Linked DNA regions of Homo sapiens: region 2 is linked to region 1. The links are contacts of gene promoters, found by promoter capture Hi-C in blood cells and fetal thymus (Javierre and others, 2016). All regions are on one chromosome and are shown on one strand. The core of a region is centred on a gene start or on the middle of the fragment in contact, and the rest is flanking DNA. Distances in the headings are between cores, read along the strand shown. Region 1 holds the start of FAM161A (FAM161 centrosomal protein A). Region 2 overlaps USP34 (ubiquitin specific peptidase 34).

The links. Contacts are between HindIII fragments. The CHiCAGO score rates a contact against its expected background, and 5 or more counts as called.
Region 2: a fragment that was not itself captured here is called in contact with the fragment with the promoter of FAM161A in region 1 in 2 of 17 cell types (M1 macrophages and naive CD4 T cells); the score reaches 5.5 in M1 macrophages.

Annotation. Positions count from the first base shown.
Region 1 is chr2:61,851,136-61,856,487 of GRCh38, forward strand. FAM161A (FAM161 centrosomal protein A) reads right to left here and starts at 2,925. Exons shown (of 7, transcript NM_001201543.2): 1 at 2,724-2,925. The coding sequence starts at 2,906. RefSeq lists enhancers at 2,409-2,538, 2,699-2,858, 3,099-3,328, 4,069-4,118. The HindIII fragment of the contact is 5,666 bases long and covers 2,499-5,352 here.
Region 2 is chr2:61,429,503-61,434,854 of GRCh38, forward strand. All of the region lies in intron 1 of USP34 (ubiquitin specific peptidase 34), which reads right to left. Among named protein-coding and RNA genes, the nearest start is that of SNORA70B, 15 kb to the left of the region's middle. RefSeq lists a silencer at 538-732. The HindIII fragment of the contact is 4,812 bases long and covers 935-5,352 here.

The sequences.
Region 1 (5,352 bases), core at 1,675-4,174:
AGTGATGGGATTACAGATGTGAGCCACCGCGCCCGGCCCTGTTCATTTTTAATTGTCTGATTTCCCTCACCAGACTGAAAATTCTGTGAGGATGTGAGCTATATATACACTGAATAGTTAATGACTAGCACTTAATAAATGTTCAATATTTGTTGAAAAGATAAGGTTGCCCCATTAGGAGTGAGATTTTATTTTTTCTTTTTATTTATTTATTTTTTTGAGACATAGTCTCACTCTGTTGCCCAGGCTGGAGTGCAGTTTTTGCATCTCAGCTCACTGCAACCTCCGCCTCCCGGGTTCAGGCAATTCTGCCTCAGCGCCCCCTAGTAGCTGGGATTACAGGCGCGTGCCACCACGTCCGGCTACTTTTTGTATTTTTAGTAGAGACCGGGTTTTGCCATGTTGGCCAGGCTGGCCTCAAACTCCTGACCTCAAGTGATCTACCTGCCTCAGCCTCCCAAAGTGCTGGGAGGAGTGAGATTTTAATTGCGAATTACAGAATACTGCGTTACCTGTGTCATCATCAGTCATATAACAGGATATGTGGACCAACATCTCTGACTAAGGCTAGATTCAAGGAACAGGCATCAGTGCCCAATATGGGCACTGCAAGGGGGGTGCGTGTGTATGCCAGAGCTGGGAGGGTGTATAGGGATGGTGCAGGGGTTGGGGGGTTGGGGGGCAGTGTGGGGTGGGATGAGTGGTCTGGCTTTGGCAAAACCAAAGAGCTGAAAGAGGCCTATTGTGATGGGTGGTTCTCAAATCAATCTTGTGGGTTAGGTATAATATTTGACTTTACTACATTTTATAGATAATAAGGTTAAGGCAAATTAACCTTTAAAAATCAAGATGGAGACCCAAGCCAACCAGTGAAGAAAGCAGAGCCTATTTCCTGCACTCTTCCTGCCTTCTTAATGCCTCTTCCCCCAGCCTGTGCCCCCTGGCTATCAGGCCCACTGTGGCAGCTTACCCAGCTTTACTTTTGGATCCCTCATGTGTGGTGGTCTCAGAACAGTACCAAACTCTTAAGACTTGGCTTCCTTTTTTTTTTTGTAGGATCCTGTCCTTTCCAAACTAGATTATTGTATAAACTGATCCCTCCTAAGGTAATAACAGTTTCTAACACAAATTTGCAGTTTAACAGGGCACTGTGGAAGCATATCTGCAACTTAGAAGTGACTGACTCCTTTACCACAGCAAGCCAAAGTTGAGTTTAATCTTTGGGAAGGCACACAAATGACACTCCCACTGGCAACTCATTTACATAGATTGCTCTTTAGAGGAGACACACATTCTTTCATTTGGTTCTCATAGAGCTGAGATGGGAAAAAAGAGACAATTATTATAGTTATTTTACAGATAAGGAAACTGAGGTTTAAGGAAATTATGTCCTAACACCACCTAGGAAGTGGCAGGGAATGGATCCTAATACAGAACTCTTCAATCCTTTTTCTCCATCACGTTGCCTTGTTGCCTACTGAAAATTGTGTTGAGGGGTAGCTTCATCATGAACAAAATCGGTCCTAGCACTCTGATCCTGGTTCATGTTCAGGGTCTCAGTCTGCCTTACTCTGGATAACTTCAAGTTGTTTGTCTGTTGGTGAAAGATTGGTCACAAAAGGTGTTGCTAAAGATGTTCTCATTAACAATTTTACTGTAGATTAAAGAGATCAGAATTCCAAAATATCCAGTGATTTCAGTTAGTCCTCAATCATAAGTTTGGTGTCTGAGAAGCTTTGGACACATGGTATTAGGAAATTTTTTCTATCTGCAGATTGCTAGTTTAAATTCAAGATTCCCATCTTTTTTTTTTTTTTTTTTTTTTGAGACTGGGTCTGAGATCTCAGCTCACTGCAACCCTCACCTCCCAAGTTCAAGCGATTCTCCTGCCTCAGCCTTCCGAGTAACTAGGATTACAGGGGCGCACCACCACGCCCGGCTAAATTTTGTATTTTTAGTACAGACGGGGTTTCACCATGTTGGTCAGGCTGGTCTCGAACTCCTGACCTCGTAACCCGCCCACCTCGGCCTCCCAAAGTGCTGGGATTATAGGCACGAGCCACCGCGCCCGGCCAAGATTCCCATCTTTTAAGTGAATTGAGCAGATGGCAGACCCTGCCCTCTACCTGCTGGACTGGTGTCCACAACAGATTTAACAATGAAAACTGATCAGTGAAAAGGCCGTCTCGCTGTACCCTAAAGAGCTGTTTAGGAAACACTGAAACCTCAGTGATTTGCTTATCTGTATCCGTGTCTGATTTAGCCAGTGAACACGTGATGGTTTTAAACACACATCTTTAGAGCACTATGTTGAGATCCGCTTATAACCAAGATCTTAAGGTAATAACGAAACACACCTGACAGAACAGTTTTCCTCAAATTACTATATATAGCCAGATATATCTCTATATATCCATTCCCGAGATGCTGGAGAGTAGAGAGTAAAATTCTATACTTTGCACTTGCCAGAAGCAGAGTAACATAAATGTTGTCTAGGAAGCTTTTACAACAGACTGGTGAAAATTAAAACACTTTTCAACGCCTCGATTTAGAGTAATTTTCGTGAGCGTAGAGAAGGGGCTGGGCCAGGACCACCAAGTAGGGACTATGTGCACAGGGACCCGCGTTTACCAGCCTGCCCTCAGCTGGGCGGGGAACCGGACAGCCCTCAGCCTGCACCCAGCCCATGCGAGGTCCCAGCCCAAGTCCCGCCCCAGTATTACCGATGCCCCAGCGGGCTGAGCCACTTTCTCCTCCTCTTCGTCCTCCAAGATCGCCTCCGCTGCCGCCAGGGCCTTTAAGGGGTCTTCGCGTTCGTACTGGGCGACCCGCGCTCCAGTGATGGGATTTACCGGGGTCTGGAGACTGGAGGCCACCAGCTTCGCCACTCGGTGGGAGGTGGCCATCGCCCCGCCTCCGAGGCCTGAGCGCCTGCGCTGGCCCGGGACGGGAAAGCTGGTGCGGCCCCTGGCAACCCGGGGGCGCCTAGCTAGGGAGCCGGTTGCTATGGGCGCCGTAACTGGGGACGCTACAGGAGCCGCCAGGGACCAAAAGTCACGCAAAATCCACTCAGGCTGCCAGAGACCCGAGTCGGGTGCTTACTGGATCATGGCAGTCAGTACCGAGTCTGTTGGCTGGTTCCGAAGGTTGGCAGGCTGAACAGGGCACTTATTCCACTCCTTTGCGTCTAACCGCCTGAACGCAGACTTCTCACATTATACAATGAAACAACTGCTTTTGTGAAGAAAAGAACGCTTTTTTATTAACTGCAATAACATGTTAGAAGGAGACAGTTGATGGAGGAGACGGCGGCGGCGGAGGAAAGCAGGGCGTGTTACTGGGTGGCGGTCTCAGAAGAGTGACAAGGTTGGCGTCCCGCTACCTAACATGTCTCCCGCGGGGGCCAGAGTGGGAAGGAGGGCGGTACATTCTACTCTGATTGACTTGAGGGCTAGCAGGAATCCACCAATCAGAAGGAGGCTCCCAGTTGTCCCTCTCGCTTTTTTCTTGACATGACCAATAAAAGCCCAGAGTTGGGTGGCGCCTGACCCTCCCACTAATGAGTGATAGTGCAGGTATTGTAAACCTGGCGTTTGCTTTGGGTTCTTCAGCTTGAGAGTGACAGGATTGAACGGCACAAGTGCCCAAGAGTCACCACAGACACATCCATCTCCCTCATCCGTATCTTCTCTTCCCACTCGGGATTTGGACGCATCAAATGGCGCCTTCCCTCTGCACCACGTGGCAGTAAGAGAAGCCAAACCTCAAAATAGCGGACGTGGTGCAGTCTCAGACATCTGCTCCCTGAGCCCCTGCTTACTGAGGCCGAGGCTGCCGCCCCCTATCTACTCCCTATCTACCCCCTCTCTATCCTTTGCCCTCCTCCTGCTCCCCAGCCCTACGACCGGCCCCCTCCGGTCAGTATTTTCCTCGTTATGCGCTGCACATCGTCGAGAACCCGTCTCTAAGGTCTGAGCCCTTACCAAACCTTTGTTCTCCTGTCTGGGTGTGAGCACCTACAAAGTCTCCTACGTCCCCACTTCCTTCAGGCTGCTCTTGGTTTTAGCTGAACAGTTGCTTCCCATGCTGGAACAGATGCTGACTGGGTTCTAAGCAGAAGCCAGAGCCAGAACCATGAGATATGCACCGCCAGGTGTGGCCAAGTTTCCAGGGGAGCAATTTCCAGTCAGACACGGCAGCCAGTTTTGTGGCTACAAAACTGCCTCAGCCTCCGGAGTAGCTGGGATTACAGGCGCACTCCCGGGAGGCGGAGGTTGCAGTGAGCCGGGATGGCGCCACTGCACTCCAGCCTGGGCAATAAAGCAAGACTCCGTCTCACCACCACCACCACCAACAAAAGTATTGATAAGGAATTATAGCAGATGAATTATAAATAATGAAATATCCTATTCTCTTTACTGTAAATTCCTCATAGACAATTGCTTCTCTCAGAATGCTTTCGTTGGTTTATGCTGTACTCCTGTATTTGTGGCCAACTTATGGTTGCAATTGTTTAACAACCTAGTTCCAACATGAATGTTGGTTAATATTTTTGTTTTTATTTGTGATTAAGATGAGAGTGACATATCCAAGATCTATGTCAGAATTTCACTTGTCAATGTTATGAGCAACTTCTTTGCTGAAATAGATAATCATTTTCTAACACTGGAATAATTTTTCTTAATTTTTTCTGCAAGTCACAATGTAAAGGCTACAGATAACACAAACTTTTAAGTTTACTCTGCATTAATATTTTCCACATCCGTTTCTTAAGTTTAAATGTCCAATGTTTAGCTTTTGCTGATTTCCATGATGTCAATATTCCCATCATAGCCAATTTCAAGCCACCAATGTGACATCACTTAATAAGAATTTGAGAAAAGATGTCTAGTAGCACACCATTATATAGTATTTCCACCATACAGATACAGTAGATGCAAGGAACATAAAAGAAAGTGAAGAGTTTTAAGAAATTATCTTTGTTTTTGACATAATTTATTGTAATTAACAAAACAATTTTTTTTTTTTTAAGATGGAGTCTCCTTGTCACCCAGGCTGGAGTGCAGTGACGTGATCTCGGCTCACTGCAACTTCCGCCTCCCAGGTTCAAGCGATTCTCCTGCCTCAACCTCCCGAATAGCTGGGACTACAGGTGCCTGCCAACACGCCTAGCAAATGTTGTATTTTTAGTAGAGGGCAGGGTTTCACCATGTTGACCAGGCTGGTCTTAAAATCCTGACCTCAGGTGATCCGCCTGCTTTGGCCTCCCAAAGCACTGGGATTACAGATATGAGCCACCACGCCCAGCCAAGTTAGACATTATAAAAGAAAAATAACTAGAAAAGCCTTTTT
Region 2 (5,352 bases), core at 2,091-4,590, 420 kb before region 1:
TGTAGTCCTAGCTACCCAGGAGGCTGAGGTGAATGAGTTGCTTAAGCACAGGCAGTCGAGGTTGCAGTGAGCTATAATGGCACCACATGACAGGTAACAGGGCAAGACTACCTCAAAAAAAAAAAGTTATCATATATATGCCAACATACGGAATTCTATTCAGCAATAAAAAGAAACCGACTACTGATGCACCAACAAGCAACATGGATGACTTCTAACCGTATGCTAAGTAAAAAGAATACCAACCAGATGTAAGTAGTACATAAAGTTTATTTCTAGCTGGACACAGTGGCTCCTGCCTATAATCCCAGCACTTTGGGAGGCCGAGGCGGGCAGATCACCTGAGGTCAGGAGTTCGAGACCAGTCTGGCCAACATGGTGACACCCTGTCTCCACTAAAATTTTGTATTTGTAAAAGTACAAAAATTAGGCTGGGCGCGGTGGCTCACGCCTGTAATCCCAGCACTTTGGGAGGCCGAGGCGGGTGGATCACGAGGTCAGGAGATCGAGACCATCCTGGCTAACACGGTGAAACCCCCCGTCTCTACTAAAAATACAAAAAATTAGCCGCGCGTGGTGGTGGGCACCTGTAGTCCCAGCTACTCGAGAGGCTGAGGCAGGAGAATGGCGTGGACCCGAGAGGCGGAACTTTCAGTGAGCCAAGATCGTGCCACTGCACTCCCGCCTGGGCGACAGAGCGAGTCTTCGTCACAAAAAAAAAAAAAAAAGAAAAGAAAAAAAAAATACAAAAATTAGCCAGGCGTGCTGGCACATGCCCATAATCCCAGCTACTCAGTAGGCTGAGGCAGGAGAATCACTTGAACCCAGGAGGCAGAGGTTGCAATGAGCCAGGATCGTGCCATTGCACTCCGGCCTGGGTGGCAGAGCAAGACTGTCTCAAAAAATAATAATAATAAAATACATTTAAAAATAAAGCTTAGGTGACAAAGCACATCAGCAGTTACGACAATGCAGAGTTGGTGGTGGGGCTGATTACAAACAGGAATGAGGAATAACTGGGTGATGGAAATGTTCAATTGTGGTTCTTATATGAGTGTATACATTTGTCAAAATGAATAAACACATACCCTTACAATAGACTAACCTTATTGTATGTAAATTATATAACAATTTAGTTAATTTTTAAAATCAGCAATTCTAATAGGTCTCATGTGAATCTTGATTCAAATTGTGAAGGAAAAGGTAGAATTTTTTAAAACTGAGAATATAAGGGAAATTGAATGCTATTTCGTATTAAGAAATTACTCTTGGGAGACCGAGGCAAGAGATCCCTTGAGGCCAGGAGTTCAAGACCACCCTGGGCAACCCCTTCGCTACAAAAAATAAAATAATTAACTGGGCATGGTAGTGCAAGCCTGTAATCTCAGCTACTTGGGAGGCTGAGAAGAGAGGATCACTTGAGCCTGGGAGTTTGAGGCTCATAGTGAGCTATGATCGTGCGCCCCTGCACTGAAGCCTGGGCAACAAGACCCCTATTCTTTAAAAAAAGAAAAATAGAAAAGAAATGAAACGAAATGAAATGAAACGAAAACTAAAGAAATTTACACAACTAGACACTGGAAAGGTTAGAGAAGAGGAATGTAGGGAGAGATTGGTTAATGAACAGAGAATTATACCTAGCCAGGAGGAATACATTCTAGTGTTTTATAGTACTGCAGGATGACTATTTTTTTGTTTTTGTTGTTCTTTGGAGCTTTATCAGGTTTTTGTTTGTTTAGAGAAGAGATTTAGCTCTGTCACTCAGGCTGGAATGCAGTGGCACAATCACAGCTTACTGCAGCCTGGACCTCCTGGGCTCAAACAATCCACTTGCCTCAGCCTCCCAAGTAGCTGAGACTACAGGTGCATTTCACCACACTCAACTAATTATTAATTAAACTTTTTGTAGAGATGGAGTCTTGCTGTGTTGCCCACACTGGTCACTAACTCCTGGCCTCAAGTGATCCTTCTGCCTCAGCCACCCAAAGCACTGGGATTACAGACATGAGTCACTGATCCTGGCTTTAGGATTACTATAGTTAATAATCTGACATTTTAGCTAGCAGAGGCTGGCCGGGCGTGGTGGCTCACACCTGTAATCCCAGCACTCTGGGAGGCCAAGTGGGTGGAATACCTGAGGTTAGGAGTTCGAGACCAGCCTGGCCAATCTGGTGAAACCCCATCTCTACTAAAATTCAAAAACTTAGCCGGGCATGGTGTTAGGCGCCTGTAATCCCAGCTACTTGAGACCCGCGGCAGGAGAATCACTTGAACCCGGGAGGCGGAGGTTGCAGTGAGCTGAAATCGCACCACTGCATTCCAGCCTGGGCAACAAGAGCAAGACTCCATCTCAAAAAAATAAATAAATAAAAGATAAATAAATAGCAGAGAGGATTTTGAATGTTCCCAACACAAAGAATGATAAATGCTTGAGATAACAATAATTACCCCAATTTGATCATTACACATCATATAAAGGTATTGAAATAGCATGCTGTACCCTATAAATATGTATAAGAATTACGTATGAATTTAAAATAACAAAAAACAGACCATGGCCAGGGGTAGCAGCTCACGCCTGTAATCACAGCACTTTGGGAGGCCAAGGCAAGATTTGCTTGGGCCCAGGTGTTTGAGACCAGCCTGGGCAACTTAGACAGAACCCACCGTTTTTCAATTAAAAAAAAAAAATGGAATGTAGTGACATTTTCCTGTAATCCTAGCACTTTGAGTGGCCAAGGTGGGCAGATGGCTTGAATTCAGGCGTTCAAGACCAGCCTGGATAACATGGCAAAACCCCATCTCTACAAAAAAAAGACAAAAATTAGCTGGGCATAATATCCCGTACCTACAGTCTTAGCTACTCAGGAAGCTGAGGTGGGCAGACAGCTTGAGCCCCAGGAGGTCAAGGCTGCAGTGAACCAGGAGCATGCCACTGCACTCCAGCCTGGGTGACAGAGTGAGACCCTGTCTCATAAATACGTAAACAAACAAAGCTGGACACAGTGGTGTGTGTCTCTAGTTCCAACTATTCAGGAGGCTGAGGTGAGAGGACTGTTTGAGCTCAAGAGTTCTAGGCCAGCCTGGGCAACACAGCAAGACCCCATCTTTAAAATTTTTAAATGCTAAATGGTTATTTTAATATATTTAAATATATACAGATAATATATAACACCTGGATTTACTTCAAGCTAATCCAGTGGGTGGGAGAGAGACAATGGATAAGGTAAGGTGAAAAAAAAAACTACCCATGAGTTGGTAAATGTTGACTGGGTGATGGGTACATAAGTGTTCACTGCCCATAAACTTTCCCATTTCTGCACATGACTCTAGATATCTAAAACTTTCTACAATGACCAGAGAACCAAAAACCAAGACCACATACCACATAGCCAGAAACAAGGGTGAAAATAAGAGAACAATAAAACAGAAGATTAAGATATTAGTTACAATAGGTAATACATTCAAGATATTAGATAAGCTGAAGAATTCCAGCAAAGTTATGAAGAATATTAAAAAAAGAATCAGGGAGACTGACTAAAGACACCTAGCATTCATCCTACACACAAGAAAGGACAAAGGTTAACAAATAAACAGCTAAGATCTGACAGGTGTGTCAGAGAGACCATCTGAGTGCAGTTGGGGAATGGAGACACACCTGTTGGTGACAAAGTCCAGGAAGGCAGTATGGAAGCATCCAGCCTCTGCAGCCCCATCTCCCCTCACCCAGATGGGATTTGCCTGCAGTCAGCAGGGACTTCCTGATGCAGGGAAAAAGTAAGCAGAAGATCCCTCACCAGCACTCCCATTACCACCACAAACACCTACACTCCTTACAAGTGGCGAATCGGCCAGGTGCGGTGGCTCATGCCTGTAATCCCAGCACTTTGAGGAGCTGAGGCAGGCGGATCACTTGAGGTCATGAGTTCAAGACCACCCTGGCCAAGAAGGTGAAACCCCATCTCTACTAAAAATATAAAAATTAGCCGGGCGTGGTGGTGGGTGCCTGTAATCCCAACTACTGAGGAGGCTGAGGCAGGAGAATCACTTGAACCCAGGAGGCAGAGGTTGCAGTGAACCAAGATCGTGCCACTGCACTCCAGCCTGGGCAACAGAGTAAGACTCCATCTCAAAAACTATAAATAAAATAAAAAGGAGAATCCCACAGTCCTTGCAAGCCCTGAGCCCAATTTAGACAACTGCTGGAAATCCATACAGCTGCACTGCCCAAATTAGGAGCACAAGGAATGTGCTCCCCAACCCCCACCTACCCCCAGTGAAACAAGCTGTGGCAGTGCAACACCATCTTGAAACCAGAGCCACCTCTGGAGTGCACCCTCTGGGGGCCAGTAGCCACTGCACCTCTGCAGCACTTCAGCTCCATCTTCATTACACCAAGGCCACACAGGTGAATGAATGCCACAACTATAGCTGCAACTTTGGTCCCGCACAGCAGGGAAAACCAACTCCCACAACCAGACCACACTTCAAGCCAAAGGAACAGTCTGACAGTCCCATCCAGGACAAACCTGCCCATAAGCCAACCAAGCCACTATAAGCTCTCTCCAAAGTAGTGGAGGCCCGCAAGCCAAAGAGCATGTGATACACCCCAAGGTTAGTGAAGCAGCCATGCACCCTTACTCAGTGCCTAAGAAAAAGGCTCCTAGCACCTCTGCCCCATGTAGACATGCTTCTGGCCTCCCGAACAGCCCTGCGCCCCCAATAAGGGCCTCAGAAACATTACCACAGGTCGTCCCTGATGGGCATCCCCCCAGGCCAGCCAGGCAGCCAAGAGCCCACATCCCAGTCCTAAGAAACAGCCCAATGGGCAACACCTGACAGACACATCTAGGCTGGCTGAGCAGTTGTGCACCTGTGTCCTAGACCTGAGAAACCATGGGCCACTCCTGCCAGGCACAACACCAAGCCAATTGAGCAACCACATGCCTGTGCTCCTGGCCAGAGTAACAGTCCTGTGGCTTCAACCCCAGCAAGCCAGACCCCAAGTTGGCCAACTCACCATATGCATACATGTGTCCCTGACTTGAGAAACAGCCCAATGAGCCAACCCCCCTGGCAAAGCTGCACCACACACTTCCTCATCCTAGGCTGCTGAGAAACTCTCAAATGTCACTAGTACAGATTACAGATGAAGAAACTACATTACTGTGTCCACACAGAACCAAGGCCAACACACTCCACTGATCTAAGATCCACTTATATAAATTAAGTCTTTCCCTATAAAATTTACTCCATAAAATTGAAAGGGGGGGGGTTCCAACAATGTGTAGAAACAATGTAGAGAAATCAACAGAGAAAAAAGAAACATGACATCTTCAAAGGCAAACAGTA